2 separate regions of the Homo sapiens genome follow, and region 1 is linked to region 2. Evidence: promoter capture Hi-C in 16 types of primary human blood cells and fetal thymus (Javierre and others, 2016). All regions are on one chromosome and are shown on one strand. Each heading gives the region's core, a stretch centred on a gene start or on the middle of the fragment in contact. The rest is flanking DNA. Distances are from core to core; before and after follow the strand shown. Region 1 holds the start of SLC44A2 (solute carrier family 44 member 2 (CTL2 blood group)). Region 2 holds the start of C19orf38 (chromosome 19 open reading frame 38).

Region 1 (3,558 bases), core at 132-2,631, 220 kb before region 2:
ATTTTTAGTACAGACGGGGTTTCACCAAGTTGGCCAGGATGGTCTCGATCTCTTGACCTCATGATCCGCCCACCTCGGCCTCCCAAAGTGCTGGGATTATAGGTGTTAGCCACCACACCCAGCCTATTTTCTTTTTTCTTTTTCTTTTTGGAGACAGAGTCTCACTCTGTCCCCCAGGTTGGAGTGCAGTGAGGCAATCTTGGCTCACTGCAACCTCCACCTCCTGGGTTTAAGCGATTCTCCTGCCTCAGCTTCCCAAGTAGCTGGGATTACAGGCATGTGCCACCACACTGGCTAATGTTTGTATTTTTAGTAGAGAAGGGGTTTCACCATGTTGGCCAGGCTGGCTTAGAAATCCTGATCGACCTGCCTCAGCCTCCCAGAGTGCTGGGATTACAGGCATGAGCCACTGCACCTGGCCTATGCCTGCTCTTTGAGGTCAGTTTTGGTTTCATACTTTAGCCTCATTTTGCAGTTGAGGAAACTGAGGCTTAAGGAAGATAAGCCCTTTGTTAAGTATCCTCTAGTTCAGAGGGTGCAGAAGGAGCATTTGAATTCAGGGCGACCCAGGAGGATGTGGGCTCCACAAGGGTGGAGATTGGGTCTCTCTGGTTCCTCACTGTATGCGGTGCCCCGCCCAAGGCCTGCACCCACTAAGGGCTGAATAAATACTTGTTCTAAGACCAGGCCCAGTAGTGCACGCAGGTAATCCCAGCACTTTGGGGGGCCACGGTGGGAGGAGCCCACGAGTCCAGGAGTTAAAGATGAGCCTGGGCAACATAGCAACATCCCATCTCTACAAAAAAAATTAAAAATTAGCCGAGTGCAGTAGAGCACCTGTAGTCCCAGCTACTCAGGAGGCTTAGTCAGGAGGATGGCTTGAGGCAGGGAGGTCGAGACTGCGATGAGCTGTGATTGCACCACTGCACTCCAGCCTGGGCAACAGAGGGAGATCCTGTCTCAAAAAAAAAAAGCAGCAGACAGAAAGAAAACTAATTTCCTGCACAGCTTGGAGAAGTTTTCAGCACCAACATTCCACAGTTGGTTGTCTGGGTTTGGGCAGTAGGCCGTTTTCCCTCCCAGTGCCTCAGTTTCCACACCTGCAAAACGAAGCCACGGAAACGCCCTTTCAGGGTGGCCAGGGGTTCTAGGCGGCATCGCCCGGTGGCAGGGTGTTCCCAGGGTGAAGCCGCAGGGTTCCCGGGTGGGGGCGGGGAAGGCTAAATGCGGCCGGCCGGTGAGTGGCGGGAGCAGCTGCAGCCCCGCCCGCGCCCTCCCGGGTCCCTTAGTCTGGGCAGCTGCCCAGCTCGGGCCGGTCTGACCGGTTTGGGCCGCCCCGCCTGGCGCTGTGCTGGGAGGAGCCGCCGCCAGTCGCGCGGTCAGTGCCTCCCTCCAGACTCGGGAGGGTCGAGGGGGCGCGGGAGAGAGCGCGGGCGGCCGCCGGGGCTGGTCGCCTGCAGGGATGGGGGACGAGCGGCCCCACTACTACGGGAAACACGGTAGGCAGCGACCCCCGCCCGTAGCCCCGGGCCGACCCCTCGGTCCCTCGGAGGGGGCCTTGAGAGAACATGGGGCGCAGGGAAGGGGGCTGGAGGGGGAGCGCAATTGCAAATCTGCGCCTGGAGCCTCCCCACCATCAGCCAGGCCCCTTCACCCCACTTATCCCCCGCAGCCTCGCAGACGACCCTCCTTACTCTCCCCTACCCGAAGGACCTGCCCCTGTACCCCTCTGCCTGGCACTGCTGCCGGCGCCTCCTTCCCCCTATCCCACCTCAGATCTTCCCCATCTCCACCTGGTTCCGTGGTGGTCACCATTTCAGCCCTCTTCCCAGTGGGTGGCCGCCAGTTAATAAGTTTGTTCACAGTTAGTGATCCCTCCTTCCTCCCCTGTCCTGGCCTGCCAGAACTGGGGGCTTGGGTGTGGTCACCTGGAGGTGGGTGAGGCAGAAAATTCCACAGGTCTCTGAATTTTATTCTTGCCAAGGCAAAGACACCCCTAGGGGCTTTTGGGAGGGGGCTCTCCCAGCCCTGTCTTGGTTCAGGTCTCCAATCCCATCCATCTTAATCTTCTTGACTTTCAGGAACGCCACAGAAGTATGATCCCACTTTCAAAGGACCCATTTACAATAGGTAAGAGCTCTGGGTTTTGGGGGGTTCTCCCCGCTAATACTACCCCAATCCCTGTCTCTTCACACCCCCTCCCATCTGTTCTCCAACAAACTGGTGACAAATATTTGAAACTTTTTTTTTTTTTTGAGATGGAGTCTTGCTCTGTCACCAGGCTGGAGTGCCGTGGCGCGATCTCAATCTCGGCTCACTGCAACCTTCGCCTCCCGGGTTCGAGCAATTCTCCCACCTCAGTCTCCCAAGTAGCTGGGATTACAGGCTTGCACCACCACACCTGGCTAATTTTTTTTTTTTTTTGTACTTTTAGCAGAGATGTTTCGCTGTGTTGCCCATGCTGGTCTCGACCTCGTGAGCTCAAAGCGATCCACCTGCCTTGGCCTCCCAAAGTGCTGGGATTACAGGTGTGAGTTACCACACCTGGCCTGGACTTAATTTTTACCATGTTTATATTTATTTATTTATTTATTTATTTTTGAGATGGAGTCTCACTCTGTCACCCAGGCTGGAGTGGTGCAATCTCAGCTCACTGCAACCTTCCCCTCCTGGTTCAAGCACGTCTTCTGTCTCAGCCTCTCCAGTAGCTGTGACTACTCAGAGGCTACTCAGAAGGCTGAGGCAGGAGAATTGCTTGAATCTGGGAGGTGGAGGTTGCAGTAAGCTGAGATTGCGCCACTGCACTCCAGCCTGGAGGACAAGAGCGAGACTCTGTCTCAAAAAAAAATAACAAAAAAATAAAATACAGCCAGGCACGGTGGCTCACACCTATAATCCCAGCACTTTGGGAGGCCAAGGCAGGTGGATCACTTGAGGTTAGGAGTTCGAGACCAGCCTGGCTAACATGGTGAAACCCTGTCTCTACTAAAAATACAAGAATTAGCTGGGCATGGTGGCGGGCACCTATAATCCCAGCTACTTGGGAGACTGAGGCAGGAGAATCGCTTGAACCTGGGAGGTAGAGGTTGCAGTAAGCTGAGATCGTTCCACTGCACTCCAGCCTGGGCGACAGAGTGAGATTCCCTCTCAAAAAAAAAAAAAAAGTCTAGCTTGGGCAACATAGCGAGACCTTGTCTCTACAGAATGTATATAAATTAAAAAAAAAATGTGTGGTGGTGTGCACCTGTAGTCTCAACTACTTGGGAAGCTGAGGCAGGAGGATCACTTGAGCCCAGGAGTTCGAGGCTGTAGTGAGCTATGATCATGCCACTGTACTCCAGCCTGGATGACGGAGTGAGACTCTGTTGCACAAAATTAAAAAATGAAATGAAATAAAAATTAAAATGCATGTGCCCTTTGGTACGGCATTCAAACGACTCAGGAAAATTTGTCCAAATAACACATGGATGAGGGTGTTTGCAGAGGGCAGATGGGCCCATGGTGCACACAGCACCAAGCCTCCTCCAAACACTGCCCCTCTGCTCCCCAGGGGCTGCA
Region 2 (3,340 bases), core at 652-3,151:
AAAGAAAAGAATAAAGTCAAGTCAAAAGGCAATAAAATAGAAAATAAAACAACAAATCCAAACTGTGGCACTTTGAAAAGATCAATAACAATGATTAGCTCCTAGGAAGACCGATAAGAGACAAGGAGACTTCACTAATTTATGTGTCAGGAATGAAAGAAGGAACATCACTACAGACCCTACAGACATTAAAAGGATAGTAAGGGGATATAAATAACTTTACACCAATACATTTGACAACTCTGATGAAATGAGCAAATTCCTTGAAGATACAAGCATGCCAATTGCAATAAAGGAATATTACAGGGCACTGTGGGAGAATTTAGCTAGGGGATTGTTCTAAGTCCAGAGGGGCCTGGAAAGTTTTCCCAGAAGTGCTATTTAAACTGAGACCTGAAGGAGAAGCAGGATTTGACCAGGTTGACAGAATTGTGTTCCAGGCCAGGGAAATAGTGTGTGCAAAGGCCCTGAGGTTGGATTGAACTTTCTGTGTCCAAAGAAAAAAGTTTACTCTAATGACGCATTTTGGTGTTTGATGACCACATGCCACATCCTTCTTGGGTCCAAACCCCCAAGCAAACCTGACTGGCTTGAACAGAAATGTTTAAAAAGATAAATGCAAACCCAGTAGTAAGAGAAACTTGGAAGTTTCTGGGCTGTAAACAGGAGGCAGTTTATCCTGTGAACTATATCACAAACTATATCCAGAATTGATCTGGAACTGGTATTCCCTTTCATGTGGCTGATCAAACTTCTGAGTCTTTTTCCTCCCTGTAACTTTACCTTGTGAGCATGCACTACCCACTAGGCGTTGCATTTCCTACTACAAGTTCTTTGAATCTAATGTCCACTGCTCTTTTTTTTTTTTTTTTTTTTTGAGATGGAATTTCACTCTTGTTGCCCAGGCTGGAGTGCAATGGCGCGATCTCAACTCACCACAATCTCCATCTCCTGGGTTCAAGTGATTCTCCTGCCTCAGCCTCCCGAGTAGCTGGGATTACAGGCGTGTGCCACCACGCCCGGCTAATTTTTTGTATATAGTAGAGACGGGGTTTCACCACGTTGGCCTGGTCTCGAACTCCTGACCTCAGGTGATCTGCCCACCTCAGCCTCCCAAAGTGCTGGGATTACAGGCGTGAGCCACCACGTCTGGCCTAATGTCTACTACTCTTAGCCCCATTCTGCAGAGCAGTATACTGAAGCCTCAAAGGAGGTAAGCCATGCCTGAGGTCACAGAGGCCAAGCCCTAACCACCATGTCCTCCCACTCCTGCCCATATTTGTTTAAATGTTGGTGCTGGTTAGGCTATGGTTTGTGTCTTGGGCATGGGTTTCCAAACATCCCACTGCTGTCACCCTGTCTCATTCCCAGGAGTTCTCTTAGAAGGAGAGACAAAAGGCTGGGCACGGTGGCTCACGCCTGAAATCCCAGCACTTTGGGAGGCTGGGGCGGGCAGATAATGAGGTCAAGAGATCGAGACCATCCTGGCCAACACAGCAAAACCCCGTCTCTACTAAAAATACAAAAATTAGCTGTGCATGATGGCTCCTGCCTGTAGTCCCAGCTACTCAGGAGGCTGAGGCAGGAGAATCACTCGAACCTGGGAGGTGGAGGCTGCAGTGAGCCGAGATCGCTCCACTGCACTCCAGCCTGGGCAACAGAGCAAGACTCTGTCTCAAAAAATAAAAATAAAAAAAGAGGAAAAAATTGTGAAAACCACCTAAACATCTCATCCATTTTTTTCCCCTCTAATCTGCAGAACCGCAACCAGAGAGGTGCGCGGGTCTGATGTGTGTTTGGGGAAGGGGTGGGGAGGGGAGAGAGTCCCTTTCAGTGCCCAAGCCTGTGTGTGCAACTTCCTGCCAGTGAGGAAACTCTCAGCTCGAGAATCAGCCCTGGTTCTCCTTTCCCCGATCTGGCCTCACAGGAGGAGTTGGCGGGGAGCCTTGGGCCCCTCTGGCCTCAGCCGGATTTCCCAGCCAAACGCAGAGAGAGATGCCCTGGACCATCTTGCTCTTTGCAGCTGGTGAGTCTGAAGCCCCCCTCTCAGATCCCCCACGCCTTTCCCCCCATCCTCTGTCCACCTTGCCGCTCCAGGGGCAGAAACCAGTGCAGGGGCTGCCGTTCTCAGGGCATCGAGGAGGCTGAGCCCTTGGCAGATGGGTTTTCCCCCTGAGCCTTGGAAACTCTCCAGTAGTGTTGGTTTTTTCTTCTTAGGCTCCTCATCACCCCCAAGTTTATGAATATCAGAAATATCACCCCTCTGGAGTCAGCTGTGCCCACACCCCATGATTCAGCCCCGCTTCGTCTCTGAAGGCTCCTTGAGTGCTGGGGCAGCAGGAGGGTCTACCTAGGGGGATATCAGTGTGGCAGGGGTGGGTGGGGGTTGGAGGCTGGACGAGGGAGGGTTTGTATAGACCTCACCTGGCCAGACACTCTGCTCAGAAGCCTGTGGGCAATCAGGAGAGAGATGGATCCCCAGGAGACCATCCTGCAGGAAGCCGTGCTCCAAAATCCGTATTCTTCACCCAAGCCTGGGAAAGGAGATAAAAGTCCTCTGCCCTTCCTTCTCCTGCCCTCCCTCTCACTCACCCCCTCCCCTTCCTGCCACCCACCTCACTCACCCCCTCCCTCCTGCCATGATGGCCTCCTTGCTGCTCCTTTTTTAATATTTATTTTTATTTTTAAATAGAGACAGGGTCTCACTGTGTTCTCCAGGCTAGTCTCAAATTCCTGGGCTCAAGCAGTCCTCCCACCTTGGCCTCCCAAAGTGCTGGGATTACAGGCGTGAGCCACTGCATCAGGTGTTTGCTCCTCCTTAAACACCCCCATTCCCCTTCCATCCCCTGGACCTTTGCCTATGCTGTTCCCTCTGTTGGAATGCCCTTCCCCAGCTCTCCAAATGGGTCCTTCCTCACCACTCAGGACTCAGCTCGTGGGAGGCCAAGGTGGGAGGATCACTTGAGGTGAGGATCTGGGCAACATAGTGAGATCCCATCTCTACACAAAATAAGCAAAATTAGCTAGCCAGGTTCACCAGCCTGGCCAACATGGTGAAACCCCGTCTCTACTAAAAATATAAAAATTAGCCAGGCATGGTGGCACATAGTCCCAGGTACTCAGGAGGCTGAGGCCACTGTACTCCAGCCTGGGCGACAAAGCAAGATTTTGTCTCTAAATAAATAAATAAAGTAATAATAAATTAAATAAAAAATAAGAGTATAGTTGTGTTGCTATGTAATAACCAATGCTATTATTGAAAACTGATGGCCAGGCATGGTAGCTCACGCCTATAATCCCAGCACTTTGGGAGGCCGAGGTGGGGGGAGTCACACGAGGC

Evidence for each region. Contacts are between HindIII fragments. The CHiCAGO score rates a contact against its expected background, and 5 or more counts as called.
Region 1: a contact is called between the fragment with the promoter of SLC44A2 here and the fragment with the promoter of C19orf38 in region 2, in 1 of 17 cell types (neutrophils). The highest score is 7.1, in neutrophils.

Annotation. Positions count from the first base shown.
Region 1 is chr19:10,624,172-10,627,729 of GRCh38, forward strand. SLC44A2 (solute carrier family 44 member 2 (CTL2 blood group)) reads left to right here and starts at 1,382. Exons shown (of 22, transcript NM_020428.4): 1 at 1,382-1,499; 2 at 2,082-2,130; 3 at 3,551-3,558. The coding sequence starts at 1,463. RefSeq lists an enhancer at 1-421. The HindIII fragment of the contact is 23,966 bases long and covers 1-3,558 here.
Region 2 is chr19:10,846,514-10,849,853 of GRCh38, forward strand. C19orf38 (chromosome 19 open reading frame 38) reads left to right here and starts at 1,902. Exons shown (of 7, transcript NM_001136482.3): 1 at 1,902-2,026. The coding sequence starts at 1,996. The HindIII fragment of the contact is 13,315 bases long and covers 1-3,340 here.